Regions from separate parts of the Homo sapiens genome. Here regions 1, 2, 3 and 5 are each linked to region 4. The links are contacts of gene promoters, found by promoter capture Hi-C in human tissues and cell types (Jung and others, 2019). All regions are on one chromosome and are shown on one strand. Each heading gives the region's core, a stretch centred on a gene start or on the middle of the fragment in contact. The rest is flanking DNA. Distances are from core to core; before and after follow the strand shown.

What was found. The method cuts DNA at HindIII sites, captures the fragments that hold promoters and counts their contacts. A contact is called where the count stands out against the background at its distance.
Region 1: a contact is called between a fragment that was not itself captured here and the fragment with the promoter of THAP11 in region 4, in 4 of the 25 tissues and cell types used here (dorsolateral prefrontal cortex, hippocampus, lymphoblastoid cells and 1 more).
Region 2: a contact is called between the fragment with the promoter of SLC7A6OS here and the fragment with the promoter of THAP11 in region 4, in 1 of the 25 tissues and cell types used here (stomach).
Region 3: a fragment that was not itself captured here is called in contact with the fragment with the promoter of THAP11 in region 4 in 3 of the 25 tissues and cell types used here (aorta, lymphoblastoid cells and spleen).
Region 5: the fragment with the promoter of HSD11B2 here is called in contact with the fragment with the promoter of THAP11 in region 4 in 2 of the 25 tissues and cell types used here (ovary and spleen).

The regions. Positions count from the first base shown.
Region 1 is chr16:68,326,894-68,332,770 of GRCh38, reverse strand. It overlaps PRMT7 (protein arginine methyltransferase 7), which reads right to left. Exons shown (of 19, transcript NM_019023.5): 6 at 3,597-3,705. It also overlaps the pseudogene RNU4-30P. Among named protein-coding and RNA genes, the nearest start is that of PRMT7, 19 kb to the right of the region's middle. The HindIII fragment of the contact is 4,800 bases long and covers 1-4,115 here.
Region 2 is chr16:68,307,766-68,314,059 of GRCh38, reverse strand. It overlaps SLC7A6OS (solute carrier family 7 member 6 opposite strand), which reads left to right and starts at 3,114. Exons shown (of 5, transcript NM_032178.3): 1 at 3,114-3,325; 2 at 3,447-3,725. The coding sequence starts at 3,134. PRMT7 (protein arginine methyltransferase 7) reads right to left here and starts at 3,041. Exons shown (of 19, transcript NM_019023.5): 1 at 2,961-3,041; 2 at 1,884-2,018. It overlaps LOC124903789 (small nucleolar RNA U13), which reads left to right and starts at 720; the gene lies at 720-821. RefSeq lists an enhancer at 3,145-4,109. The HindIII fragment of the contact is 13,375 bases long and covers 1-6,294 here.
Region 3 is chr16:68,144,732-68,150,583 of GRCh38, reverse strand. All of the region lies in intron 3 of NFATC3 (nuclear factor of activated T cells 3), which reads right to left. Among named protein-coding and RNA genes, the nearest start is that of NFATC3, 62 kb to the right of the region's middle. The HindIII fragment of the contact is 8,254 bases long and covers 1-5,846 here.
Region 4 is chr16:67,838,929-67,844,597 of GRCh38, reverse strand. It overlaps THAP11 (THAP domain containing 11), which reads right to left and starts at 2,278. Exons shown (of 1, transcript NM_020457.3): 1 at 403-2,278. The coding sequence starts at 2,043. The coding sequence ends at 1,099. The region is part of intron 1 of CENPT (centromere protein T); the gene reads left to right. RefSeq lists enhancers at 955-1,004, 1,445-1,604, 1,316-2,062, 2,515-2,564 and a silencer at 2,085-2,264. The HindIII fragment of the contact is 20,232 bases long and covers 1-5,669 here.
Region 5 is chr16:67,427,846-67,433,412 of GRCh38, reverse strand. It overlaps HSD11B2 (hydroxysteroid 11-beta dehydrogenase 2), which reads right to left and starts at 2,292. Exons shown (of 5, transcript NM_000196.4): 1 at 1,900-2,292. The coding sequence starts at 2,164. RefSeq lists silencers at 2,174-2,353, 2,574-2,623 and enhancers at 4,329-4,863, 4,864-5,398. The HindIII fragment of the contact is 17,409 bases long and covers 1-5,567 here.

The DNA.
Region 1 (5,877 bases), core at 466-2,965, 490 kb before region 4:
TGACACAGAGCACGGCAGTCTTGCTGAGTTAAACAGACAGGAAACGAGTTCAGGGAAGTGGAAGCAGCTGGAACTTGCCAGGCAGAGAATCAGAGAGGAAATTACACAGAAAAAAAGCCTTCAGAATGCTGCACAGGGTTCCTCTAGGGTCTGTGTTAATACATTCACACACACACAGGGTAATACTCTGTGAAGCCGAGCAAAGGTTGCATGAGTGATAACAATCTCCGGAGCTCTCAGAGGCCTGGGAAACATTCAAGTTCTGATCAGCCAGACAAGGGAAACCCTGCTGAGCACCTAGAGCTCTCAGCAGACACTCCAGAAAGGTTACAGTAACTGTCTGGCTAAACAGCCTTAGAGCAGTGGTTCTCAACAGGTGGCAATTTTACACACTCGAGACCAAGGAAGACGTGGCAGTCTGGAGACATTTTTAGTTGGCAAGAATGGTGGGAGGAGGGGAGTGCTACTGACATCCACTGGGAAGAGGCCAGGGACACTGCTAAACATCCTACAATGCAAAGGACAGGGTCCACAACAAAGAATTATCAAAATGTCACATAGTTGGAGAATGCCAAAACGTCACAGCACTACTGTTGAGAAGGCCTGACTTAAAGCTACTCTAACCCCACTCCAAAGAAAGCTTAAACAAGCCCTGAAAGGATCAATCTGAACTGCAAGTAACCCAACTGCATGCCAAAGTTTAAAAAGCAAAACCAACGAAGTCTAGCACTCAACAATGGGGAATTCCAAATAGCCACAGCATCCAAACAAAAATGGTTAGACATGTGAAGAAGGAAAATGTGACCCAGAATAAGGATAAAAATGAGTCAAGAGAACAAACCCAGAAAAAACAAAGATGGTGGGAACAGAAGATAAGGATGTTCAAAAAGCTAAAATAAATGTGCTTATAGAAAACTATGAACATGAGAAAAATGGAAGTTATGAAAAAGAATCAAGTGGAACTTTCAGAGATTAAAAAATACAATATCAAAAATGAGGCCAGGCACAGCGGCCCACGCCTGTAATCCTAGGACTTTGGGATGCTGAGGTGGGAGAATCGCTTGAGCCCAGGAGTTTGAGACCAGCCTAAGCAACAAACTGAGATCCCATCTCTACAAAAAAAAATTTTTTTTAAGTTAGCCAGGCATGGTGGCATGAGCCTGTGGTCCCAGCTACACAGGAGGCTGAAGCAGGAGGACTGCTTGAGCCCAGGAGGTCAAAGCTGCAATAAGCCATGCTCACACCCCTGCACTCCAGCCTGGGGGACAGGTCAAGATCCTGTCTCAAAAAAAAAAAAAAAAGAACAACAAAGAAAGAGAAATGAAAAGTTTACTAAATATACTTAACAGCATATTAGATGCTGCAAAAGAAAAGATCAGTGAATCTAAAGACCTATCCAAGAAATCCCTGTCCATCAACAGGTAGAGAGATAAACAAGTTATGGTACATCTATCTAATAGAGTGCTGCTCAGTAACACAAAAGAACGGACCCCCAAGACATGAACAGTGTGGAAGAATCTTACCAGCATCACGCTATAAAAAAGAGAGCACACACACAGAAGAGTCCACACTTCTTTGATTCCACTTCCTTGAAATCCTAGACAGGCAAATCTAATCTATAATGAAGTCTATGAGTGGGTGCCTAGGACCAGGATATGGGGGGACTGATAGAAAGGGTTATGAGGAATCTCTTTGGGCATGATGGAGATGTTCTATTATCTTCATTATGGTGATGGTGGTTACAAGTGTGTTTATATTTGTCAAATATCCATAATGAAAATGGATATTCATTTAATGTAAATCATACTTCAATAACGTTGATTGTAAATGGAATGATTTGAGCACTCTATTGTATATTTTAAAAATAAAAAAGATAGGCCGGGCGCGGTGGCTCACACCTGTAATCCCAGCACTTTCGGAGGCCGAGGCAGGCTGGTCACCTGAGGTCAGGAGTTCGGGACTAGCCTGGCCAACACGGTGAAACCCCGTCTCCACTAAAAATACAAAAATTAGCCAGGCATGGTGGTGCACGCCTGTAATCCCAGCTACTCATGAGGCTGAAGCAGGAGAATCGCTTGAACATGGGAGGCAGAGGTTGCAGTGAGCTGAGATCCTGCCATTGCACTCCAGCCTGGGCAACAGAGTGAGACTCTGTCTCAAATAAATAAATAAATAAGATAGTACCCACTTCTTTTGTACATGTTTCAGATTCTCCATTAAAAAAAAATTGTTAAATGGGAGAATAATGTTGACCTTAGGTAGAAGCTTCAATTCAGAATGATACTGCATTCTCCAAAACCGTGGTGAAAAAGCCAGGTGCAGTAGTGCACACCTGTAGTCCCAGGTACTTGGGTCGCTGAGATGGGAGGATCACTTTAGCATAAGAGTTTGAGTCCAGCCTGGGCAACATAGTAAGACCCTATCTCCACAAAAAATTAGAAAAAACCCATGGTGTTATCCATAACTTCACCACAGTTTTTCCTTTGCAAATCTTTCAACTATGTTCTCTAAGTGTCAGTGGCATGTGAAATTTTCAAAGACTGAAACAAAGTTCTAGACTATAAAAAATATTCTGGAGGCCAGGCATGGTGGCTCACGCTTATAATCCTAGCACTTTGGGAGGCTGAGGCAGGCGGATCACCTGAGGTCAGGGGTTCAAGACCAGCCTGGCCAACATGGTGAAACCCCGTCTCTGCTAAAAATACAAAAAGCAGCCAGGTGTGGTGGCAGGCACCTGTAATCACCGCTACTTGGGAGGCTGAGGCAGGAGAATCACTTGTACCCAGGAGGTGGAGGATGCAGTGAGCCAAGATTGCACCACTGCAATGCAGCCTGGGTGACACAGTGAGATTCCGTCTCAAAAAAAAAATATGTGTGTGTGTGTGTGTGTGTGTACATATACATATTCTGGAAACCTTAAGAGACAATGCTATACAGGAAAATTGTTCATGTTGTATGCAGAAGCAGAATGTCAGAACTACTCTCGCCATTCTCCTGCCTCAGCCTCTCCAGTAGCTGGGACTACAGGTGCCCACCACCATGCCTGGCTAATTTTTTGTATTTTTAGTAGAGATAGAGTTTCACCGTGTTAGCCAGGATGGGTGAACCCAGGAGGCAGAGCTTGCAGTGAGGCAAGATAGCGCCACTGCACTCCAGCCTGGGCGACAGAGTGAGACTCTCTCTCAAAAAAATAAATAAATAAAAGAACTAAGTACTTTCTGCCTGATGAAACTCAGAGTTGAGCTTTGAGCAGTGGCAGTATCGTAGCCAATGAGGTTTATCCAAGGCGTAATTATTGGTAGTTGAAACTCAAGAGTTGAGCCCCATAAGAATTCCAATTTGCTTAAAGCAAATGTAGGTTTTGTTTGCGTCTCCATTGCTGGACCTGACTAGCTCTAGTCTACTCCTTGTTGACTAGTTTTAACTAGCAGGAAAATAAACATCAAGAGAAACCAAGTCCTTACTGTCAGAGCTCCACACAGAGAGGTCCCACTTCTATGCTATGACCTGGATTTGTTCCAGGTAACTGGAATAACCCTTTTCCTCTCTCACACAAGAGCAAGCAAAGCTTTCAACACAGGGTGTGTAAATCTCACCTGGACCTACAGTCACCTCGGTGGAATGCTTGTTGATAACCTTAATCTTATCACTAAAGCCATTTTTCTCCACAATCTTCACAGCAGCATCAGCCATAGGCTTGAAAACCTAGAAAATAGAGCCGAAACCCAAGGAAAAATGAGCAATAAATTAAACAGTAGTCTGACCTTTAAGGTGAGCAAGCTATTCCTTGATTCTGGTCCTAAGATATGTAACTTAAATACTTTATTCTCCAAATGTGCATCATGAAAAAGGGCTGAGATTCAGCTGGCTTTAACTTGTGATTAGGGACTCTCATTCCGTGCCAGGCACAGCGGGGATGCCGGGGATCCTGAGGAGGCTGCACTACTTAGTAAGAGCAGTAGGTGTCAGTACCGCACAAGAGGACGCCAAAAAGCCAGGAAAGGGACTTGCCTCACGAACCTGGGAGGCGTGCTGTGCCCTCCAGAGGAGAGCAGACTGTAGGTGTGAGTAAGTAGGTCATCCTCTGGGCTCAAAATTGTCCCAAATCCCCACTGTTGGCAGAACACAGCCTCTATTTTCTTATGGTGCAGCAGTGCCTCTTGTCCATGGGGGATACATTTTAAGACCCTTGGTGGATGCTTGAAACCTCAGACAGTACTGACCCTTATGTATACCATTTTTTTTTTTTTTTTTTTTTTGCTATACATACATACTGTTCCATGGTGGGCAGCTCTATGCAAACCTACCCCAACAGGCCACGGGAGCTGAGAGGCTGAGGAAAGACTGGCAAATCCAGCTTCTCAGAAAGACACACTTTATAGAGACATACAAACAGAAGCCTTGTCTCGGGCAGTGAGAAACTGGGCCCCCACACTGTTATGGCTCAGACGCAGGGCTTACATACCACAGGGAATTTGACGAAGGGCAGGATTTACGGTAAGTATGTATTTATGATAACATCAAAGTTGTTCTGACCTGAGGGCAGGATTTACATCAAAGTGCATGAGAGCGGAAATTTTAGAGGCATTCCTGAAGCTGGGGTTGGTCAGAAGTCAGCGTGGAGGATTAGCATTCACAGTGGAGCTGCTTCAGCCTCCAAGCTTACCTATGACCAGGTTTAATTTATAAATTAGGCACAATAATAAATATAAATAATAATTTATAAATTAACAATAACTAAAAATAGAACAATTATGTAATAATACTCAGAATGGTACACAACTTACAACTTATAAATAATTTCTGGAATTTTCCATTTAATTTTTCTTTTTTTTTTTTTTGAGAAGGGTCTCACTCTATTGTCCAGGCTGGAGTCCAGTGGCATGATCACTGCAGCTTCCACCTCCCAGGCTCAAGCAATTTCCCACCTCAATCTCCCAAGTAGCTGGGACTACAGGCGTAGATCACCATGCCCAGCTACTTTTTGTAGAGGCGGGGTTTTGCCATGTTGCCCAGGCTGGTCTCCAACTCTGGGACTCAAGGTTTCCACCTGTCTCAGCCACCCAAAGTGCTGGGATTACAGGCGTGAGCCACCGCACCTGGCTCCATTTAGTATTTTTGGACCTCAGTTGACCACAGGTAACTGAAATCACGAAAAGTGAAACCATAGATAAGGGGAAACTACTGCTTTGGAGGCCCTCCCTTACCTTCCCAGTCTTCCTCCCCCATTCCCCCAACAACCAACACTCCAGCCACAATGATCTCATGATCACTGAGCCTTCCCTATCCTGGCCCCACCTGCCAAATCAAACCCCACTTCCCAGGGCAGCATGAATCCCCCATCCAGAAGTCTTCCCTGAACTCTTCGAGTTTCCCTGAACATAAATAAGCACCTCCAACTCTTTGTTTTCAACTTATCCAGTCTAGATTCCACAGCCCCAAGAGCTCTAGCATGTAAAACAAACAGACTCACGTGTGGCCCTACACACGAAGTGGAAACCACAAAATGATACCGAGACTGTTCCTGATAAGATTTTCCTTTTTTCTAAATCCTTTTCTGTATTTCCCACATTTTCTACCATGAATACTATATTTTTTACTATAATCAAGGGACAAATGCTGTATCCTTTCGTAAAGAGTACTTACGTGAGCAGCTCCAGTTGTGCAATTGATTAGCGCGCAGTATTTACATGGAATACACACACATGTTCTCCTAGAAAAATCTTCATCATCTATTTCAAATTATTTCTAGGATTTGCCTTGATGTTTTTAGATGTGGTTTGAGGGCCTTAAACCCTAGTTCTCACCAATCACTTTGCCTCCACCCTGACAATATCCAAAGCCAGTGTCGTCCCTCACCCCTGCTGCCTTCTGACT
Region 2 (6,294 bases), core at 1,865-4,364, 470 kb before region 4:
GAGACTCAATACACATACCTGCATGTACGCATACAACTAAATGTTCCACAAAACAATACTGACTTCCTACGAACAAGGCCCTCTGATATGCTCTATTTCATTTTTATTGTTTTTAAGAGATGGGATCTCCCTGCTGTCCAGGTTGGATCACAGTGGCTATTCACAGGCATGATCATTACACTCTACAGCCTTAAACTCCTGGACTCAAGCGATCCTCCTACGTCAGCCTCCCAAGTAGCTAGACTACCGGCATGCACCACGGCACCCAGCTGCACTTTTACTTGCTGGTCAGGACCCATCAATGGGTTGCAACCAGCAGTTTAACAACATTGCTATAATCCACTTTATCTCATGTACTAACATTTATTTTACAGACAGAATATCTAGAACTGTCAGAATCTGTAATGTGCATTAGAAAACTGTGTCCAACAAATGTTGGAGTAGAGAAAGAAATGGCCATATCTGACTGAATGTTCAAGGAAGGCTTAAAAGGTGGATTCAGCTGAGGCAGGAGGAGAAGGAGGGGGTTGTGGACGGAGAAGGCATTTCATCCAATTAGAAAGGCTTAGACAATCATGCACATTATATCAATCAGTTTAGTGAAGTAAAACTGGACCAGGTGTCAAACATATCAATAGGATCCATATGGTAGAGTCCTGAAATACTAATCCTGTGGTCCATGTGGAATCAATTCTGAAGTCACTTCAAGGTTAAGAGTCATCGTTTTGTAGTTCATAAGCGTGATGACTGGGTGTTCATGTGCCTGTGTCAGACGTGCCTCCCTCAAACCTTTACTACATTGGCACGTTACCCATTTGAACTGGAGGAAAAAAAAAACTTATAGTGAAGAACTTTAATCCATAGGATTCCTTTCTTGTCTGTGATGTTGCTGAGTCTAAAACCAGGACCACAGTGTCTTTTCAAAACCTGGAACAGCCCAGGCACGGTGACTCACGCCTATAATCCCAGCACTTTGGGAGACCAAAGCAGGTGGATCACCTGAGGTCAGGAGTTCGAGACCAGCCTGGCCAACATGGCGAAACCCCGTCTCTACTAAAAATACAAAAAATTAGCCAGCATGGTGGCAGGTGCCTGTAATCCCTGCTACTTGGGAGGCTGAGGCAGGAGAATTGCTTGAACCTGGGAGGCAGAGGTTGCAGTGAGCCAAGATCGCGCCACTGCACTCCAGCCTGGGCAACAGAGCAAGACTGTATCTCAAACAAACAAACAAACCTGGAACTATGTCTTGTGTTAACAATTTTATGAAGGCATGAACCTCTTCTGGTGGGCACTACACACCTTCTCTGGCTGAATGCCCTCATCCATTATTATTTGTTCTCTCCCAGAAGCAGTCTACACTACAGATTCAGGAGATATTCTCTGAACCCCTCCTCATTCTCCAAGAGTTGTAAACTTGCATGGCCATTTACAAGGAGGAAATAGAAACCACCATGCCAAGCCCTAATTGTATTAGCCGTCAGACTGCAGAGCAGATGGTCCACTACATTCATTCAAAATGTATTTGCTAGGCGGTGGTGGCTCACACCTGTGATCCCAGCACTGTGAGGGGCCGAGACGCAAGGATATCGAGTCTGGGAGTTCCAGACCAGCCTGCGCAACATAGTGAGACCCCGTTCTCTACAAAAAATTTTTAAAAAAATTAGCCGGGCGCGGTGGCCTGTGCCTGTAGTCCCAGTTACTCCCAGCTACTCGGGAGGCTGAGGTAGGGGAATCACTTGAGCCCGGGAGGCAGAGGTTGCAGTGAGCAGAGATGGCGCCACTGAACTCCAGCCTGGGTGACAGAGTGAGACCCTGTCTTAAAAAAAAAAATATATATATATATATATATATATAAATATACATATATTAAAATTAAAAATTACCCGAGTGTAGTGGCGCGTGCCTGTAGTCCCAGCTACTCGGTAGGCCGAGGTGAGGATCGCTTGAGCCCAGGAGGTCAAGGCTGCAGTGCGCCTCGATCACACCACTGCACTCAGCCTAGGCAGCAGAGTGAGACTCTGTCTCGAAAAAATAAAATAACAAAATTTATTAAATACCTTCTATGTGCCAGGCACTATATTAGGGACTGGAGCCACCACCACAAGCTAGAGAAGACCCTTGCCCTCCAAGAGCTTAGACTCTAATGAGAGAGTAATACAAATTACAGACTACATGAATGCAAGAAATACACAGAGCGTTGTAGAAAGAGAAAACCAAGGTTACAGAAGGACTCTGAGGAAACTAGCATTTGAGATCTACAAGACAGACCGGGATAAAAGTTGGGGAAGAGTTTTTACAGGTCAGGAATCCTTACCCCAACTTTCCCAAGAAAAGGCCCTAAGGTAGAAAGAACTAGGTTGCATAAGCAAAATGTGCCAAAAGCCTGAGCGACCGAAGCACTTTTGCAGAAGCCCCCCGCTCCTCATCTCCTATCACATCTTCTGCTCAATCAAGCTGGGCCTTGTCGACTTCGGAAAGGCGTTTGGATTTTGTTCTAAAAGCACTGGGAGCCACTCAAGAGTTTTAAGCAGAAGCGTATCTACACTAGGCTTACGCTTTTACAGGACCACTCTGGTTGGCGTGTAGTGAATACACGACTCTCCAATTACTCAGAACAGTGAGTGGCAAAGACAACAGGTCTGGCAATCAGAGAACTCGTGGCCCAGTTAGGGGTGCGATGGTTGGAGCTACTGCGGTCTCTGTGGCTGAGGGGAGGCGCCAGGCACGAGTACTGCGACAGAGCCCCGCGAGTGGCAGGCACCCGGCTGCACTGCAGAGCCGGGGCCAGCCTAGAACCCCGCTCTCCTGCAGGCCCGGGTGTCCCGAGCTGCCCCACGCGGAGGAGTCCAAGTAGGCCCACGCTAGGCTCCTCTGCCGAAACCCTGGTGCCAAGGACACCATGCTCGCTGCACACAGAACCCCAAAGCGACCCCACCTTCCCAGCATACCCAGCGCCTCACCCGCCGCGGGAAACCCTCCGCTCGCCTCCGCTGCTACCACTTTTACCGCGGCCAGCACGCGGGGCGGGACCTCGCAGCGTCGAGGAGCGTGCTGGGGGGCGGGTCCTAAAGCAGAACTGGAAAGCTATCCCATCACACCCCGCGAGCTCCCACAGTGCTCAGCGGCAGCCACTATGGAGGCCGCCAGGACCGCTGTACTCCGGGTGAAGCGGAAGCGCAGTGCGGAGCCGGCGGAGGCTCTTGTGCTCGCTTGTAAACGCCTCCGGAGCGACGCGGTCGAGTCAGCGGCACAGAAGACGTCGGAGGGTTTGGAGAGAGCGGCGGAGAATAATGTCTTCCACTTGGTGGCCACTGTGTGCTCCCAGGTATTGGGCGTGGTGCAGCTGGTGTGGAGGGCATCTTCGGGTGCAGCCGGTACGAAACCCGATCCCTGACCCGCTCGCGAACTCCTGCTTACGCTGGCCTCCGTCCCCTGTTGCCCCCTAGGAGGAACCAGTCCAGCCTCTCCTGCGGGAAGTTCTGCGCCCGTCACGGGACAGCCAGCAGCGTGTCCGCCGTAATCTCCGCGCCTCGGCTCGGGAGGTCCGGCAGGAGGGCCGCTACCGGGTGCTTTCCAGCCGCCGATCCTTGGGGACCACCTCGAGCGGCCAGGAGTCCGAGTACACGCCGGGGAACCCAGAAGCCGCCGGGAACTCGGGCTTTCAGTTGTTAGACCTTGTCCACGAGGAGGGAGAACCTGAAGCCGCCTCTGCAGGCTCCTGCAAAGTGAGTATGCCCCTGAAGGTGGTCGCTGGGCTTCTCAGGATGGTAATGCAAGAAGACTGGGCCCAGTCGCAGCACAGTTTCATCTTAAGGGGATGGATGATCCATCCGGCGTGACGGCCTCATTTTACAGATTTGGTTGTTCATCCAACATGTGTTTACTACGTGCCTACGATATGCCAGGTATTTTTTTAGATTCTGTGGATACAGCAGTGAGGACCTAACATGCAGGTAGACAGAAACAGTAAACAAGTCTATTCAGTGTCAGATGATGATAAGGGATGTAAGGAGGCGGGGAGACAAAGCAGGAAGAGTGGTGCCACTTCAGTGAGAGTGTCACTGAGGAAATGACATTTGAGTGAAGACTTGCAGAAGGTGAATGGCAGGGTATTCCACATATCGAGAGGACTTCTAGGCAGAGAACCTGAAAGTAAAGAGGCCCTTAAGCCGTTTCTTTGCTCCTTGCAAGGTGCCTGGAGCCCGGTGAGCTAGAGGAGAGCAGTAAGGAATTTGAGGGGAGGATGCCTGCTAGGTACTTGCAAGGACATTGCCTTTCACCCTGACTGAGATGGGGATCACTGGAGCAAAATAGAGATAGAGCAGGTAGGAAAATTGATCAAAGAGAGGTTAAAGGAATAGTCCTGGATAGCATATCAAGTTTGAGGTAGATTTAGGTCTAGAATGCAAGTTTTCTCACATTTAATCCAGTGCTTTTCTTTATATTACATTTGCTAACTTCATTTGCAATCACTTCCAAAAAAAGTCTACTACATGCAGCAAAACTACAGAAATGGAAAATTCTCCTTGAGGCTGGGCACAGTAGCTGACGCCTAATCCTAGCACGTAGGGAGGCCCAGGCGGGAGGATCACTTGAGCCTGGGGAGGTCAAGGCTACAGTGAGCCATGATTGTGCGGCAGTGGCATTTCAGCCTAGGTGACAGAGTGAGACCCTGTCTCAAAAAAAAATAAAATACTCCCTGTAATCCCAGCGCTTTGGGAGGCTGAGGCAGGAGGGTCGCTTGAGGCCAGCCTGGGCAACAAAGCAAGACCTTGTCACTACAAAAAGGAAGAGGAAATTAGCTGGGCATTGTGGCACGCGCTTGTAGTCCTAGCTACTGGGGAGGCTGGGGCAGGAGGATCACTTAAACTCAGGAATTAGAGATTGCAGTGAGCTGTGATCAAGTCACTGCCCTCTGGTTTGAGCAACAGAGCAAGATACTGTCTCTAAAAAAAAAACCAGAAAATTCTCAACATAAAGTGTGCCCTCTCTTTTTTTTTTTTTTTTTGAGTCAGAGTCTCACTCTGTTGCCCAGGCTAGAGTGCATTGGCATGATGCTGGCTCACTGCAACCTCCAACTCCCGGGTTCAAGCAATTCTCCTACCTCAGCCTCCCAAATAGCTGGGATTACAAGCGTGAGCCACCACACCCAGCTAATTTTTGTATTTTTAGTAGAGACGGGGTTTCGCTATGTTGGCCAGTCTGGTTTTGAACTCCTGGCCTCAGTGATCCGCCCGCCTCAACCTCCCAAAGTGCTGGGATTACAGGCATGAGCCGCTGCGCCTAGCCAATATGCCCTCTCTTGATAAACATTTTTATAGAACTCATTTTAATTATTTTTGCAACTTAAAACAATTATAATTCAAAATGAATCCACAAGCAACAAGCAAATGGTACTAGTGTAATTGTTTATTGTTGTTTTTGTTTTGTTTGAGATGGAGTCTCGCCCTTGTCGCCCAGGCTGTAGTGCAGTGGCGCGATCTCGGCTCACCGCAGCCTCTGCCTCCTGGATTCAAGCAGTTCTCATGCCTCAGCCTCGCGAGTAGCTGGGATTACAGGCATGAGCCACCACACCCGGCTAATTTTGTATTTTTAGTAGAGACGGGGTTTCGCCACCTTGGCCAGGCTGGTCTTGAACTCCTGACCTCAGGTGATCCACCCGCATCGGCCTCCCAAAGTGCTGGGATTACAGGCGTGAGCCACCACGTCCAGCTGGTGCTAGTGTAAGTGGATAGCAATTTGTGTATGATGTCCATAGCCACATCTTTCACCAAAACATTCCAGACTAATGCATGACTTACAAAATGTGTAAAGTAAACCAATGCTCCGTGGAATTGAATCAAGTAAATAGTTCACTAGGCCGGGCACAGTGGCTCATGCCTGTAATCCCAGCACTTTGGGAGGCTGAGGCGGGTGGATCACTTGAGGTCAGGAGTTCAAGACCAGCCTGGCCAATATGGCAAAACCCCATTTCTACTAAAAATACAAAAATTAGCCGGGCGTGGTGGCGGGCGCCTGTAATCCCATCTACTCGGGAGGTTGAGGCAGGAGAATCGCCTGAACGCGGGAGGCAGAGGTTGCAGTGAGCCAAGATTGCACCACTGCACTCCAGCCTGGGCGAGAAGAGCAAAACTCCATCTCAAAAAACAAGAGTAAATAGCTAATTTAATTTTATAAAGAAAACTAGGAGATAAACTGATGACCGATATGAACAGAGATTTTTCCAGTAAAGCAATACCGACTCTAAACATACCAAAAATGTTTGCACAGAGTAATTATAGGGGAAAAATGAAT
Region 3 (5,852 bases), core at 470-2,969, 310 kb before region 4:
TTGATTCAGGGTCTCGTTATGTCACCTAAGCTACAGTGCAATGGCACAATCATAGCTCAACACAACCCTGAGTTTCTGGGCTCAAAGGATCCTTCCACTTCAGTCTCTAGAGTAGCTAGGACATCAGGAGTGTGCCACCAAACCTAGCTTTTTTTTTTTTTTTTTTTTTTTAGATATAGAAGTCCCACTAGGTTGCCCTGGCTGGTCTTAAACTCTTGGTTTCAAGTGATCCTCCTGCCTTGGCCTTCCAAAATGCTGGTATTACGGGCATGAGCCACTGTGCCTGGCCTAATTGTATTATCTTTAAATCTCCATTTCAAGTTAATAAAGTAGCATTACAAAATGGATGTGGGGCTTTTTTTGAGAGTGGGGCTGGGTCTGATAGAGCTGAGAGACACTGATCTAGAAGACTTGTAACCAAAGAGGCACAAAGACCTCAGGATATAACCACCAAAGGTTTATAATAATGTTTTGCAACGGGCAAGATTCTTTATTATAATTCATACTGCAGAAACAATTCCAGATTCAAGGAAGATGACAAATCGTAATTCCAACTACCCTTCTCAAAGGATATAAGTAGAGCATATAAAGCAGGGAAAAACAGCTAATAAATAAATGGAAAAATGCTCAATCTTATTAAATATCAAATAAATAAGAAAACTACTTCTAACCTATCAAAAAAGCAAAGAACAGAGAAGTGGTAATAGTCTACACAGACAACTTTTCCCCTTTGTGGCTGTTTATATGATTTGCTCATTTTCTGTTTCTATTTTAGTATTATTAATTTTACAAGCCCTTTAGATATACTAAGCATATTAACCCTTTGTCTGCCTTACAAGTTATAAATATGGTTTTGTTTTCCATTTATCACCAATTCTGGATCAATTTCTGCTCCTCAGAAGGGAACCATTTGTAACCCTTTTCACTGTTTCTTTTGGAACTTACTTCCATATTTCTAAGGAACATGTTAATACTGCTATTTCCTAATGTTTTTCAAGGTTAGATATATTATCTTTTGAACTTTCAGTGTTTGCATTATAACTGGATACATGTTACTTGCAGCTCAGCCTTGTAGTGTATTTTAATTATATTTCCTTTTTCATACAACTTATTTGGTTACAGTTAATAATTGCCTTTTATATTAGGATTAAGTTTGGCTGCATAAACAAAAATCCAAAGTAACAGTAATTTAAACATGTTAAAAGTAAAGTTTATTTCTTAGAATCTACAGGTCTCTTCTACTGGACCAGTGAGTTTGCCTAAAACACATCCTGCAGTCTTCTGCCTAGGGAGCATAGTAAACCTATTGCAAGCATTGTGGGAACTAATAAAATGGTCAGAGGTCTCACTCTTCAGTATGCAGACTTCCATTATGCCTTCCCTTCCGCCCCCACCCCATTTTAAGAACAGATCATTAAGCCTAGCCTTTAGCTCTCCTAGAATCTAGAACCTCCACTTCATTCTCTCTATAGAATCACCAGATTCTCTCAGGGTAAGACAGGCATTATCACTAGGCTGTACCACACAGGAAAGAAACATCTGGGAAATTTAAGTCCTTTTTAAATTCAATTTAATTTTTTTTTCTTTTAAGATGGAGTCTCGCTGTGTTGCCCAGGCTGGAGTGCAGTGGTGCTGCAACCTCCACCTCCCAGGTTCAAGCAATTCTTCTGCCTCAGCCTCCTGAGTAGCTGGAACTACAGGCATGAGCCACCATGCCCGGCTAATTTTTTTGTATTTTTAGTAGAGACAGGGTTTCACCATGTTGGCCAGGTGGTCCCAAACTCCTGTCCTCAAATGATCCACCCGCCTCAACCTCCTAAGGTGCTAGGATTACAGGTGTGAACCACCGTGCCCGGTCTTAACTCCTTCTTTTATAGACTTTTTATCCAATCTTCTTGTTTTCAGTCTCACCTCACATCCCACTTTCAGAGATATCCAGTACGTCAAATTCCTGAACCTTTCCAGAGTTCTCAGATGCAAAATGACTTGTGCTGCTTGCTTATTGGTTCTTTCTCACCTGCCAGCAGGCTTAAGCTACAGCTGTCTTATGTTTAGTGAAAGTAAACCTGTTCAATTTATTACATTTATGTTTCCATTTTCTGTAAATATTTTAATTTTTATGTAGTCAAGAAATCTATCAGTATTCTCATTTGTAATTTTTTTACACATTTTAGTGTAAAATTAATAAATTTCAAAGCTTTAATTATGGAAACTATTCCATAAAACTATAAAATGTCAATATCATCACAATAACAAAAATAAAGCCTAGGTCAGGCACGGTGGCTCACACCTGTAATCCCAGCACTTTGGGAGGCCTAGGCAGGTGGATCACCCGAGGTCGGGAGTTCGAGACCAGCCTGACCAACATGGAGAAACCCCATCTCTACTAAAAATACAAAATTAGCCGGGCATGGTGGCGAATGCCTCTAATCCCAGCTACTCAGGAAGACTGAGGCAGGAGAATCGCTTGAACCCAGGAGGCGGAGGTTGCAGTGAGCCGAGATCGCGCCATTGCACTCCAGCCTGGAGTGCAAAACAAGAGCAAAACTCCATCTCTAAATAAATAAATAAATAAATCCTAAATAAATCAATAGCTAAAAGGAAACTGGAAAAGTTTGGGCATATATTTTATGTGTATCTGTGCAAAAACAAATTTCAGCCATTACTCTTTTGGTTTATCTGGCGGCAGATGGGGTAAGTAATAATGCCACGTGAGATTCATCCAGATTTATACCCAGAGGTAAAAAAAAATGAAGGTAGAGAGTGGTTATAGTTCACTGCATCCAAAAACTCCTGTGGACTATATGTCTTTTTTTTTTTTTTTTTTTCAGTTCACAGATAATCTGAAGCTAACAATGATTAGGCAACTTCCTCACATTCATCTATTCAGTGATTAGTCATTCCTTTTTGGTATACCTGTTGCTCTTTCATGTTTAATCATAAATTTAACAAATTATTCTACATGACCAACTGTTCATCAAGTGGAGAAATAAACAGCAACAACTTTACCACTTGCCTGTGAGCACTGTGAAGAGGACAGTATCCATCTTGTTATCTCCAGAGCCTAGCAGAGCGCCTAGCACATTACAGGCATTCAATCATTGTTGAAAGAATAAATTTTAGAATAACAGAGTACAATTTGGTGAAGCAAAATAACTCATGAAGTTAGTCAATACATTATTTCTAAAAGAACTGTAGGCAATTTGCTCTTATATAGAAAAAGAAAAAACCAACAAAAAAATTATAGGCATTAAAGTAGCTCGTCAAAATGAGGTAGTTAAATCTAAAATAGAGAATATAAATAAAAAAGTTTGCTATTACCTATTAAGTTATCCAGATATCAAATAACATACTGGCAAGTACTCTATACCAAAGAATCCTAGTCATATTAGATGGCTGACATGTATAAGAGCTTCACAAAGTCATAAGCCACTTGCTTTTTATACTTTGATAAAATAAACTGATGTTGGGGGAAGGTAATCACTCATATAAGATTTCAAAGGGAATATATTTCATAACACATATTTTGACCAACATCTGTTCCAGATGTATAATACCATAAGAAAAATAGGGCTATGCCTTTCTATCTGAGAGACTTTTAAAGGAAGATCAAATAAACTAATTAGACTATTATCCCATCTGATTTCCAGAGAAGCATTTATGTTGTAGGCAATAAATAAATTACTACTACTGTTAACACTAGTCTCTAAAAACTTTCACCAGTATCAGTAATCTCTTCAGTCCACCCTCTGCTTCGCAGAAGAAAGTAAGCCAAGTTGTTTGTTATGTTTCTGTATCGTTTCCATAGCAAAGGTCTGTGCCTGCTTAATTTAACTAAAGCTGGAGGGTTAAAGCCTGAAGGTCACTACAGGACAGACTACAGCAACTTCAATAAGAGCAGTTCCATTATCAGTTCTGCTGATTAGTTGGGGGAATGGGCTCTAAATATATTAGACCCATGACAACACATTGTAGAAATACTAAAAATACAAAATTAAATTTCTATAATATAAATTGCTTAAAATGAAAGTATGCATAAAAATGAAAAAATAATACAAACTTCATTTTTCAAATTTCAGTAACTTTTGGGATAAGATTCAAAATATGTATACCTTAATAAAACTTACCACTGTATAATATATAAGCTTTTTAAAAAAAATCCTTTTTTTTTTTCTTTTGGGAGACAAGGTCTTGCTATGTTGCCCAGGCTGGCCTTAAACTCCTGGGCTCAAGCAGTGATCCTCTTGCCTCAGTCTCCCAAGTAACTGGGATTACAGAATCACATCACTACACCTGGCTAAAACTTTTATTCTTCTTAAATAATTAGACTCATAGGAAGTTGCAAAAATAGTATGTATATGTACTACAGGTTGAATATCCCTAATCTGAAAATCCAGAATGCTCCAAAATCTGAAACTTTCTGAGCACTGATATGACACCCAAAGTAAATGCTCACTGGAACATTTTGGAATTCAAATTTTTGAATCAGGGATGCTCAACCAGTATGTATTCTGGAAATATTCCAAAATTTGAAAAAATCCAAAATCTAAGACACTTCTGACTTCTGATCCCAAGCAGACAAGGGATACTATAGCCCCATGTACCCTGCACCTAGTTTCCCCCAACTATAATACAGTACATATACCCACAATATTGAACTGTAGTTAGCACAGTATCAAAACCAGGACATTGACACTGATACAATACTGCTAACTAGACTACAGGTCTTATTCAGTTGTCATTGTTCTACATGCATTCATTTGTATGTGTGTATATAGTTTTATGCAATTTTATCCCATATATAGATTCAAATAACTACTACCCCAGTCAAGATATGAAGAAATTCTCTTGGGCCACCCCTTCATATTTGCACCCCTCAACCTGACCCTGTTTCCTGGCACCAATCTATTGTCCATCTCTACAGTTCTGTCATTTTGAAAATATTACATAAATAGAATCATATAGTATATTGACTTTTTTCCACTCAGCATAAGTCTATGGAGAACTGTCCAAGTTGTTGCATGTATCAACAGTTTATTCTTTTATATTGCTGAGTGGTAGTACATTGTATGGATACACCAGAGTTTATTCGTGTATTTGGTTTGTTTATAACCTTGGGCTATTAAAAATAAAGTGCAGCAGGGCGTGGAGGCTCATGCCTGTAATCCTAGCACTTTGGAAGGCTGAAGTGGATGAATCGCTTGAGCTCAGGAGTTCAAAACCAGCCTGCCTGGACAAGATGGTGAAACCCCATCTCTACAAAAAACATAAAAATAGCTGGGCATGGTGGCGCACACCTGTAGTCCCATATACTAGGAAGACTGAGATTGGAGGACGGCTTGGGCCTGTGAGTCTGAGGTTGCAGTGAGCTGAGATCGCATCACTGCACTCCAGCCTGGGTGATGTGCAATCTGCAGAGCCAGACCCTATCACAAAAAAAAAAAAAAAAAGAGAGAGAGAAAGAAAAGTTGGTTGTTAGGCCAGGCATAGTGGGTCAAGCTTGTGATCCCACGGCAGGGAGGCCAAGGTGGGAGGATCACTTGAGGCTAGGAGTTGTAGACCAGCCTGGGCAACATAGTGAGATTGCCATCTCTACGAAAAAAATTTTTAAAAATCAGGTTGAGGCAGCCATGTGCGGTGGCTCATACCTGTAATCCCAGCACTTTGGGAGGCTGAGGCCAGTGGATCACCTGAGGTCAAGAGTTCCGGACCAGCCTGGCCAACATGTTGAAACTCTGTTTCTACTAAAAATGTAAAAATCAGCTGGGCGTGGTGGCAGGCACCTGTAATCCCAGCTACTCGTAAGACTGAGGCAGGAGAATCTCTTGAACCTGGGAGGCGGAGGTGGCAGT
Region 4 (5,669 bases), core at 1,029-3,528:
ATGCACATGCATACCAGAGGCTGTGCTAAGCCTAAGGGATGTCATGGTGAGCAAAATTCAATCCCAGCTGAGAATTGAAACCCTCAGAGGCGAACTATCACAATATAGCTTAGTTACCAGTTGGTCCTTCTTGTTGAAAGGATACAGGGAGATAATCCATGGACAAACTGGGCCCATTTGGTGCAGTTTCCAAACTCTTTAGGGTGAGCTGGGCCAGGAACTCTGTGAGGACCTTATAAGGCCAGGATCCATGTGCTTAGGGCCCATTTTTGGAAAAACTGGTCATTGAAGCATCTCTACTTTCAGGGTCAGCCTGGTCTTTCAGAAAGGCTGAGGCCTATTTCCCCATGTTTCAAGGACATTTAACTATGTTTTTGTAAAAATAAAATGGCGAGACCCAAATAAAAACCTTACTTTTTGTTTAATTTGTTTTGCCAAACAAACACAGTGAAAACTTTAGTCTGACTAATTGTACAGAAAATAGAATTTGTAACCAGTAGCAAACAAAACAGGATAAACCTAAGTCCCTGGCAAGCTGGATCTCCATCAGCAGGTCATCCAGATCCCCTTGTAAATGGCCTCCTGGGAAAATAAGTCCTAGGAGGCAGAGGCACAGATTTACCAGTCCCCATCAGAATCACAGGCTGCACCTGGGAAGGAAAAGCATGAAAAGGAGGAGAACTGATGTTACTTGAATCTCTTATCACTACACACATTAGAGTTGTCTGACTGCTGACCAACCTTAAGGTATGGTTTTCCCAAACCTATAGTCCCTGGACATCCCACCTGCATCCCTAGAGGGTAAGTTTCAAGTTCAGTGGTTCTGAAGCCTCTGCTTAACCAGAATCTGCAACAATAACTGGGGAGGAAGGGTAGACAAAGTCATAATTGCTGGTGTCACCAGGGCAGAGTCTAAGGCCCCAGCTTCCACTTCAGGAGGAAACAATTGAGGATGCCAGGTCACCAGCAAGAGAGTCCAGCTGCCTTAAGCCTCAGTACTGTCAACCAGTGCCCAGGAGTATAGAGGAGTTCAACAATGGCCTGCGGTCCCCTGGCTGGATGGGGTCTGGGAGTCCAGCAGGCTGCCGGGGCACCAGTTCACATTCCGTGCTTCTTGCGGATGACAGCCATGGCAAGCAGCCGATCCTTCTCACGCAGTTCTTCGCGCAGCTTGGCCTCAGTGAGACGCAGGTGGCGAATGCTGCCTTTCATCTCTTTCATCTTCACTTCCATCAGAGCCAGGATGTCCCGCTGCTCATTCAGCTTGCGCAGGAGCTCCTCCTCCGTGGTGCCTGACGACAAGGAGTACGAATGGTCGGAGCCAGTATCAGGGAAGCCCTCTTCCCCTACCACCACCAACTGGGGGCCCATAGGGCACTCGGCAGCCTCCAGCCCTGCGGTAGCAGCCTGTAACTCCGACGCGGCGGCCGCAGCGGCTGCGCCCTCTGCGGCTGCAAACTCCACTTGCACTGTGAGATCGATGGGCTTCACGTCTTCTCCAGTGGGAGTGATGGGCGCCGGCTGTACGGATCCCGGAGCCTGACTGCTGTCTACAGTGGCCTGAAGGGTGAGAAGCACGGCCGCGGAAGCAGATACCAGGTTCGGCTGCAGCTGGGCAGTCTGGGCAGTGGAGGCAGAGGGTGAGGACTGCTGCTGCTGCTGCTGCTGCTGCTGCTGTTGCTGCTGCTGCTGCTGTTGCTGCTGTTGCTGCTGCTGCTGCTGTTGCTGCTGCTGCCTGCGGCGGGCGGCCGCGGCCCCAGCGGGTCTGCGCGCTACTTTGCGCTCATTGACGCCGCGCAGCGGGAAGATGGTGGGGACGCGTACCGTGTAGGTCTTGCGGCCGCCCTGGAAGTGAACGCTGCAGAGACGGTGGCCTGTGGTGGGCTGGAAGGTGGAGAAGCACCCACTGACGCCGGCACGCGACACGTTCTTGAGCCAGAGGCGCCGCAACTCAGCGTCCTTTGGAAACGTGTAGAAGTGCAGCGCCTTGTCCCGGTGCGAGTTGTTGTAGCAGCCTGGCACGCAGCACGTAAAGCCAGGCATGGCTGCGCCGCGCGGCCCGGCCCGGCCCACCGGCCTCCTGCGCTCTTCGACGGCCCAGTGGCTACGCCGCCGCCCGCCCCTCGACGGGCGGCGCCGCGCGAGGCCTTGGGTGGTATCCCACCACTGCCGCTCGGCGCAGCCGGCCCGCCCGGCGCCCCGTGCCCAGAATACGCTTCCTGCCGGCCCGCGCCGCGCCGCCCGCCTGGCTGCCCGCCTGCGCTCGGGAGTGGGCCCCGGGGACGCCGCGAAGGACCGCCTGAGAAAGAGACTACGCCCCCCACAATGCCCCGCGCCAGAAGCGGCTCACTTCCGGGGCGGGTGTGTGCGGATTCCTGCCGCCTTCCAAGGCACTGCGATAGCCTCCGAAGAGCAGATTCTTTCCCCAGCCCGTCTTGTCCCCGGCGGGCGAGAGAGGCGTATTAGGTTGGAACGCTGTCGCCTGGACTGCTCCTCACGAGGACCCGAATCCTGATAGGGGCGTGGAGCGGGGCGGTGCGCGCCTCACCGGTGCGCAAGCGCGGTGGGTATATGCCCACGGAGACTACAAATCCCGTGATGCCTCGCGCTGAACTAGGCGCCTTCCCTCCGAAGCGCCGCCTAAGGGAAAGATCGAGTTACTGCGGACCAGGATTCGGGCGAGGTTGTGCTGTTTGCCAGAACCAGTTCCCCAGCCCCGAGCCCCTTTGAGTCGACGGCATTGCTGCAGCAGAGGGAGACGAAACCTGGGCCTCGGCGCCCCGAAGGGTCTCAGGAGCCCCTTTCTTTGCGTTGGGGACTCTCTCCTGATTCAGCTGCTGCCTGCGTTGACTAACTGATCTAAACAAAGTCTCCAGTAGACGCCTACTATGTGGCTGACACGGTGCCGGGAGTTTGCGGGAGTCAGACCGACTGGGCTCCTCTCTTGGAGCCTGACTACCTAGACGGATAAGCGTCTGTCTTTTGGATAATAGATCTGAATGCACGCGAATGGATGTCTACTCACAAATAGTAATCGCTCCAAAGGAATTAACAGGAGAGCAGAGAAATGGGGGGGAGGTGGTGGGGGCCAGGAATAAAAAAACGAACGAAAGCTTGGGTAGGGAGAAGTAGCCAATTCTTGTCCCAGGAACCAGTCTGTAAGGCCACATGGCAGAAAAGAGCTAGGCTCCGCCATTAAAGAGCCTGGAAAGGGGTGGCCCGGGTAGGGCCAAGCGTAGGAAAATACCAAACTGGGACATGTTAAGGATTTGGGGTTTTATTCTGCAGGCCACTGAGAGCTATTAAAGGATTTTATGGGAAAGGATTTGCATTGTAACAATACACCTCCCCCCACCTCAACTTATTTGAGGGAATCTTTTTTTTTTTTTTTTTTTTTTTTTTTTGTAAAGGAGTCTCACTGTGTCGCCAGACTGGAGTGCAATGGTGAGATCTCGGCTCACCGCAACCTCCGCCTCCTGGGTTCAAGCAATTCTCCTGCCTCAGCCTCCGGAGTAGCTGGGACTACAGGCGCATGCCACCATGCCCGGCTAATATATATATATATATATATATATATATATATATATGTATTTTGTATTTAGTAGAGACGGGGTTTCGCCATGTTTCTCAGGCTGGTCTCGAACTCGTGAGCTCAGGCAATCTGCTCGCCTCGGCCTCCCAAAGTGCTAGGATTACAGGCGTGAGCTAGGATCACGGCGCCTGGCTGGGGGAAAATGTTTTAAAGAACACAAAATGTTGTGGAAAGCCAGGGAGGGGCCAGGCAGTTCTCCAGGTGAATTACCTGCAAACTAGCCCTCCTTTGCCGAGTTCTTCCTTCTCCCAATTTTTTTTAAACTTTTACTTTAGGTTCGGGGGTACGTGTGAAGGTTTACTACATAGGTGAACTCGTGTCACCGCGATTTGTTGTACAGATTATTTCATCACCCAGGTATTAAGCCCAGTACCCAATAGTTATCTTTTCTGTTCCTCTCCCTCCTCCCGCCCCCCGCAATTAGACCCCAGTGTCTGTTGTTGTCTTCTTTGTGTTCATGAGTTCTCATCATTTAACTCACACTTGTGAGAATATGTGGTATTTGGTTTTCTGTTCCTGCATTAGTTTGCTAAGGATAATGGCCCCCAGCTCCATGCATATTCCCACAAAAGACATGATCGTGGTCACCTCCCAATTTTTCTTGTCCTTTTTTCTCTCCTGATAGCAGATCACAGGCATGAAATAGAAACCTAATATATATTATTTCTTTTTTTTCTTTTTTTATTTTGAGACGGAGTCTCGCTCTGTTGCCCAGGCTGGAGGGCAGTGGCGCGATCTCAGCTCACTGCAAGCTCTGCCTCCCGGGTTCATGCCATTCTCCTGCCTCAGCCTCCCAAGTAGCTGGGACTACAAGCGCCCGCCACCGTGCCCGGCTAATTTTTTTTGTATTTTTAGTAAAGACGGGGTTTCACCGTGTTAGCCAGGATGGTCTCGATCTCCTGACTTCGTGATCCGCCCGCCTCGGCCTCCCAAAGTGCTGGGATTACAGGCGTGAGCCACCGCGCCCGGCCTCTAATGTACATTACTTCTAATTATATTATTGGACATAAAAACAAAATGGGGCCGGTGTAGCCCCTGGTAAAAGATATGCATTCATTTGGGTGAATCATTTATACAACGGTATAAACGTGAACACACATATTGCATTTTTACTTATGTATTTATTTATTTGAGATGGAGTTTCGTTCTCATTGTTGAGGCTGAAGTGCAGTGGTGCGATCTCGGCTTACTGCAACCTCCACCTCCCAGGTTCAAGAGATTCTCCTGCCTCAGCCTCCCAAGTAGCTGGGATTACAGGCGCCAGGCACCACAACCAGCTAATTTTGTGTACTTTTAGTAGAGACAGGGTTTCGCCATGTTGGGCTGGCTGGTCTCCCACTCCTGACCTCAGGTGATCCACCCACCTCGGCCTCCCAAAGTGCTGGGATTATAGGTGTGAGCTACCGTGCCCAGCCTATTTATTTATTTATTTATTTTTATTTTTCTTAGACGATGTCTCACTCTGTTGCCCAGGCTGGCGTGTAGTGGTGCAATCTTGGCTCACTGCAACATCCGCCTCTTGGGTTCAAGCAATTCTTCTGCCTTAGCCTCCCAGGTAACTGGGATTACAGGTGTGCACGACCACACCCAGCTAATTTTTTTTGGTTTTTTTTTTTTTTTTTTTGAGGTGGAGTTTTGTTCTTGGTCAGGCTGGAGTGAAGTGGCACGATCTAGGCTCACTGCAAACTCCACTTCAGGGTTCAAGCAATTCTCCTGCCTCAGCCTCCCAAGAGCTGGTATTATAGGTGCCCACCACCATACCCGGCTAATTTTTGTATTTTTGTAGAGCGGGGTTTTCCTCATGTTGGCCAGGTTGGTCGCAAACTCCTGACCTCATGCAATCCACCCATCTCAGCCTCCCAAAGTGCTGGGATTACAGGCGTGAGCCACCGCACCCGACCTAATTTTTGTATTTTTAGAAGAGATGGAGTTTCAACATGTTGGGCAGGCTAGTCTGGAACTTCTGACCTCAGGTGATCCGGCCACCTTGGCCTCCTAAAGTGCTGGGATTACAAGTGTGAGCCACTGCACCCGGCCAATATTACATGCTTAAATTTTTTTTTTTTTTTTTTTGAGA
Region 5 (5,567 bases), core at 1,043-3,542, 410 kb after region 4:
TCCTCAGCCCAAACCCTGATCCCACAGCTGAGCTCCAGGAGTAGCCTTGGCAAGTGATTCTCTGGGCATTCTTAGGAGGGAGAGGGGGAGTAGCAGCTCTGCCAGGCCCAAAACACAGTGTTCTTGGCAGGTGGGGCTGAACCTGGTTACCTACTTGTCTTCCAGCCGGGTGTTGAGAGACAACCCCCAAGTGTTCGGGCCCTGGGAAACTTGGAGTCTTACTGATGCTTGTACAGGGCAGGTTGGGTGGTCCTCTCTCCCCCAACCCCAGCTTTGCAACCAGAGATTGGAGGAGCCCAAGTTAGAGAAAGCATCCTTCCTCTCACCTCTCTCTCAGGCTCAAGGCCAGAAGCAACAGCAGCAGCACAAAGGCCTGAGGTGAGACCTCAGGAAAGACTACCCAGCTAGGCCACTAGTACCTGCAGATGGCCTGGGTCCTGTTGAGGTGGCTCACAAATAAAGCAGGAAGGGATCTGCCCTGTCCCCAGAGGCAGAGCCCACAACCTGGCCCCTACTTCATACCCGGGGTGTCTGTTGATTTTCCTTCCTCAAACCTCTGAAACTGGGGTCTGCTGAGGCTTCACACTGCGCCTGGAACCTGGGTCTCTCCTGTCCAGCCCGAATGCTTCCCCATCTCTACCATCTTTGCTGGAGTGCAAGGCCCTTGTGCCTCCTTCCCCCCTACTCTGCCTCAGCAGTCTGGCTTCTTACCTGATTCATGGCCCCTCCCAAGGAAACCACCTCATATCCCCTTCTCCCCACCCCCACACCCAGACTGGCTGTCCCCTACAGAGACCGTGTGTACTCCTGCCTTAAGCCTTTGTCCCACATCCTTTCTCTGATCCGAGATCCCTTTCATACTCCACTTATCTCCACTCATGCTCCAAGGCCCCACTCAAGGATTTCCTCCTCCGGAAAATTCTCCCAGCCCCATCTGATCACACAGGGCCCCTACTAGACCGAGGTCTCTGAGAAGCCAGGTTGCTGGCTGCCCCAGCAAAGGCCCAGCGCAAGGACAAAGCCTGGAGCACCTGTCCAAAGCCGTGGGTATTGGCGAGAGACCAGGCTGCTCCTCCCACGATGCAATGGAGTCAGTGCCCCCTGGCCTTTCTCCCCCTCCCCACTTCCGGCGGGCCTCCAGCCCCCCCCCCCCTTCCCCTTCCCTCCCTCTGGTGACAGATTTATTCCCTGCTCCAGACAAAGGAGCTCAGCTAGGCGGCCAGAGGCACCTGAGCCCAGCTCTCTAAGAGCTCCTTCCTGGGCACAGAGGACCAGGAGGGCTTGGGGGTGGGGTGCTGGGTGTAGGCTCCAAACTACTGCCTCAGCAGTTTGGCAGTGGGTGGCTAGACAGAAAGACAGCTGAATGTCCAGCTGCCCCTCACGGTGACCTCTAGCTTTTCTGAACTCCAAGGATCCCAGCCAGTGGGGGATGGGTGGGGTGGGGAAGTTCCCCATCTAAGCTCTTCCCTCTGGCCCGAGGAATGGGAGATGGGTATCTTAGGTGGGGATGTCAGGCAGAGTTCAAGGGGTAACGATCCTCCCTTCTCAAGGCCTCCGAAGTCCCCTGAGACTGCTCTCTTGGGGAAGGGAATGGCATAAACTCTCAAACTCCAGGAGGTTCCCTCTTCTCAGCCACCAGTCAGTTTCCTTCTCGAACCGGCCCACTCCCTGTCTCACTTTCCCTCCAACACTCCCCGCAGCGGCAGGTAGTGAACCCGGGCTTGGGGAGGTGCCCGGCGCTCCCTATTTGGCTCGCTCCCTGCACCCAGGGGTGGAGAACTCTCCCACTCTTGCGCTGAGGAGCCCGCCTTGGCTGTGCCCATGGGGAGTCAGTCCTGTTGAGTGTCCAGTCCCGCCCTCGAGCCTGGAGTCCCCGCGCTCCGCGACCCGCGCACTCACCGGTGATGAGCACCGCGCGAGTGGCCACCGGCAGGCGCTGCGGGCGCGCCAGGCGGGACAACGCGATCCAGCCGGCGGCGGCCAGCACGGCGAGTGCGGCCGGCGGGGGCAGCAGGCGCTGGCACAGCCAGTCGAGCGCGGCCAGCAGCGCCAGCGCCGCCAGCAGCGGGCGGCCCAGACGCAGGTCTGAGCGCAGCAGCTGCAGCAGCGCGCGGGCAGCCACGAGCAGCCAGGCGCCGCCCGACGGCCAAGGCCAGCGCTCCATGGCGGCCCAGCGGGCTGGGGCGGGGCGGGGCGGGGGCCGGGCCGGGGAGCGGGGAGAGAGAGCTTCTAGGCCGGGGCGCGGAGTGCGGGGGTACACCGGCCTGGGGCGCGAGAGGGACACTCGCTTTCTCTGCTCGCCCTCGGGCCGAGCTTATGAAGAGCCCCGGGGGCGGGGGAGAGGGCGGGGAGCGGGAGGGGCGGGGGCGGGGCTTTCCTTCACTTCTCTCCCGGCACCCCCCGCAGGGCAGGTGCTCCCCCCCCGCCCCGCCCCCTCGACCAGATTCGATTTGGAAAAAGCCGGAACAAAGTCCCAAAGTTGCTGCGCTCGAGGAGCCGCCTGGCTGCGGGCGGTGCTTGGGAGAGGGCCCGTCGGTCCAGCCCGGGTGCCCGGCCTCAGCTCTCCGCCGCGCCCCCACCCACACGCCCGGGGCCGCCAAGCCGCCGCGCTCAGGTGAGCACATGCCACTCACGCTTGTTCGGGACACCTGAGGACACGCACAACCGGCATCCCGGTGCCCTTTGCTGATCGCACCACCGCGGCCGCCAAGCCTGCAGGAACACCGCGAGGAACCAGCCGGTGCTCACCCGGTCTCCGCTGCCGCTGCCGCTGCCGCCCGCGCCCGTACACGCGCCGCACTCCCACGTGGTCGGCTGCGCCAGGTCCCTGGCGCACACACCCTAAGGCGCGCTCACCCCTGAGCAGCTCGCGGCCACAAAACCTGCCTGGGACAGGGGCTGGCGGGGGAACAGGACGACCGCTCCCGGTTCTTGGAGTCTCTGCCCCGTCTTTCCCTTTCCTTCCAGGGCTTAAACCTGGGGACGCACAACCCCACTTCCTGCCTCACAAATGTATGTGTGTGGGGGTCAGTGGAGGGTGGGGTGTCAGAGGAAGCACCTAGGTCTCCCATTACTTATGGCCCACCCCCGCCAACCCCAAGAGCCAGGCCAGAGGGACGTCGGTGAAGGCAGCCTCTAGGACAGGGTGGTCCCTGCCTTGCTCCCCTGAACCCCCAGGGGGTAAAATAAGTGGTATGAGTGTGGGTGGATTTTTCTGCCTGCGTGTGTGAAGGTCTCCATGCTTGTGTGTGGCCCAGTGGCCCCCCACCCTGCCCACCCCCGTGTCTGGCACCCTGTGCCTAGCATCCATGCCAGGGCTCTGCCAGGCACTGGGAGTTGGTGCCAGTACCTGGCTGCAGGCTTGATGCTGAGAGCAGTAGGTGTAGCCCTCGACAGAGGGGTCCCTGCTTCCCGTGGGCTTCCAGGCCGTGCTCAGTGCCTCATCCCTGCCCTCCCAAGATCCTGGGAGGTTGTGGACTCCCTGTCACACTTCCTAGCCCTGTTGCTCATTCTCTCTTAGGTGCCCAGGCTCTGCCAGGGTTTCAGGGCAATGCCTCCTCCAAAGCCCTCTCTGCCACCAGACACAGCCCCCTGGTGAGCCAGGGAAATCTCAGGGGAGGCTGGGAGCCAGACCCACCTAAAGGGAGAGTCTCTGGGTGGAGGACCAATTTGCCCTGAGCCACTCCTGTGCCTCCACCTATCCCTCCTCCTAAGGACAGATGACAGGCAAGCCCCAGACCTGGGAGGCAGGACTTGAATGAGGAGGGTGTGTGTGCCTGACCTTGGGTACATGACCTTGTGTGCCTGTGTTTGTAAGCACTTGTGTCCATGGGACTCTGTGGCTTGTCCAGGCCATTTGGTTGTGTCACTCCCTATGCCATGACCCTGTGTGTGCAAGTGAGTACATTTGTGTGCATTGTGTGTGTTTCTGGTAACTCTCTGTCCTTCGGTCTGGGTCATCCTGCCTCTAGAAACTCAGGGAAACATTCCTTTTCCAAAGTCACTGATTCCTGTTGCGGTGAATGTATGGCCCAGGCTTGGAGGCAGACACAGCACCCCTGGCCTGACTTCCTGATTTGAGCTGTAGAGATTGGATTGGCCAGACCCCCCAGCTTTAGCCACCACACCAAGAGTCTGGCTGTGGTTTCTCCAGCCTCAGTCCATTGGAGTCTTCCCCTTGGAGTGAGGAAGGGAGTAGAAGCTGAGATGAGGGTCCTGGGGAGCCTTCAAGGTCAAGGCAACACAGATAGAACCAGCACTTGCTAAAGCAGGAGTTGAAGAGTAGGGGGATGGGGCAGGAAGGCAAGATAAGGAAAGAGGCAGAAGCAGGGTCCTACACTGTCCTGGGAAGGAACCGTGAAGGCCACCATGGGGACAGACTTGCCAGGAGGCGATGTTGGGATTTGCGTTTGGCTGAAGAGTATAACATGGTTAGGATGAGGAAGGGGGTGTTTCCAGCTCAGCTTCTGGAACCTCGTGCCACCTCAGGCAGAGCCATTAGTCTTATGGGATTTGGGTCTTGGTGGGACTGGACCATCTGCCACATTTTTATATAAACTCCCCCTGCCCATTCATCCCACTTCCTAGTCCAAGCCTCCTCCTTCCCAGGACCTATGCTCCAGCTCCTGTGGCCTCCTCAACCACTGACCCCTTATCCCTTATTAGGTGGAGACGTTCTAGAAGTACAAGGTGGTTAGGGCAGTCATTGCTGGCAGAAGCTGGCCCAGCCCTGTCTGAGGCCTGTTGCCAAGTCGTGCCTGCCTAGGGGCAGAAAACCAGCCTCTGCTAGAAGCAGGAGTCTAGGCTGTCAGGGGCCTCCAGGGAAGAGAAGCGGAGAGGGGCAGTGGGCAGGAGCCTCAACAGATAAAGCAGGGCCTGGCAGGGCAGAGGAATGAAGGGTGACCAGGAGCAGAGCACCTGAGCCACTCGGCCCCTAAGCCCTCAGCCCACAGCCTCCCTTAGTCCTTTGTCCCAGCCTCCAACCCGCCTTGGTCAGAAACCTGGTTAACCAAACCCTTAGCACGCCCCAGGCTCTGGAGGACAAAGGGGTGGGCAGGCGGGCTCTGGTCTCCTCCAGCGGAGTCCAGCAGCTCACTGGTACCCTCTGCTGGCCGTGTAGGGAGAGCACGGCTCTGAAGGAGCTAAAGACCAGGTAACCCACCGGCTGCTGGGTTGAGGAGAGGGGAACAGATGTCTACAGTAGGGGGTACCAAGTGGCAGACTCCAGGAGCCCTCTCGCTCTGTCCTCTGACTGTACTTGGGTTCCTGGAGCAGAGCACTCAGCACTGACTTGTCACCTCCTCTTCCCTCTGCAGCTAAGAGGCTGCAGATTCCCAAGGAGCCCCTGCCCTGCACTCTGCTTCACGCCTTCACCCCCACCATGCCTCCTCTTGGCAGAATGGCAGAGGGTCCCTCTTCCTGCCAGTGGCCAGGGTCCTAGACCCCATTGCTCCCTGTCCTCAAAGACAACAAACTTGTATTGAGTTCCTACTGCATGCCAGGCCCTGTGCTGGGCACCACAGATATAGCAACTGACTACTGGCCCCAGCAGCAAGTGTACTGGCGCT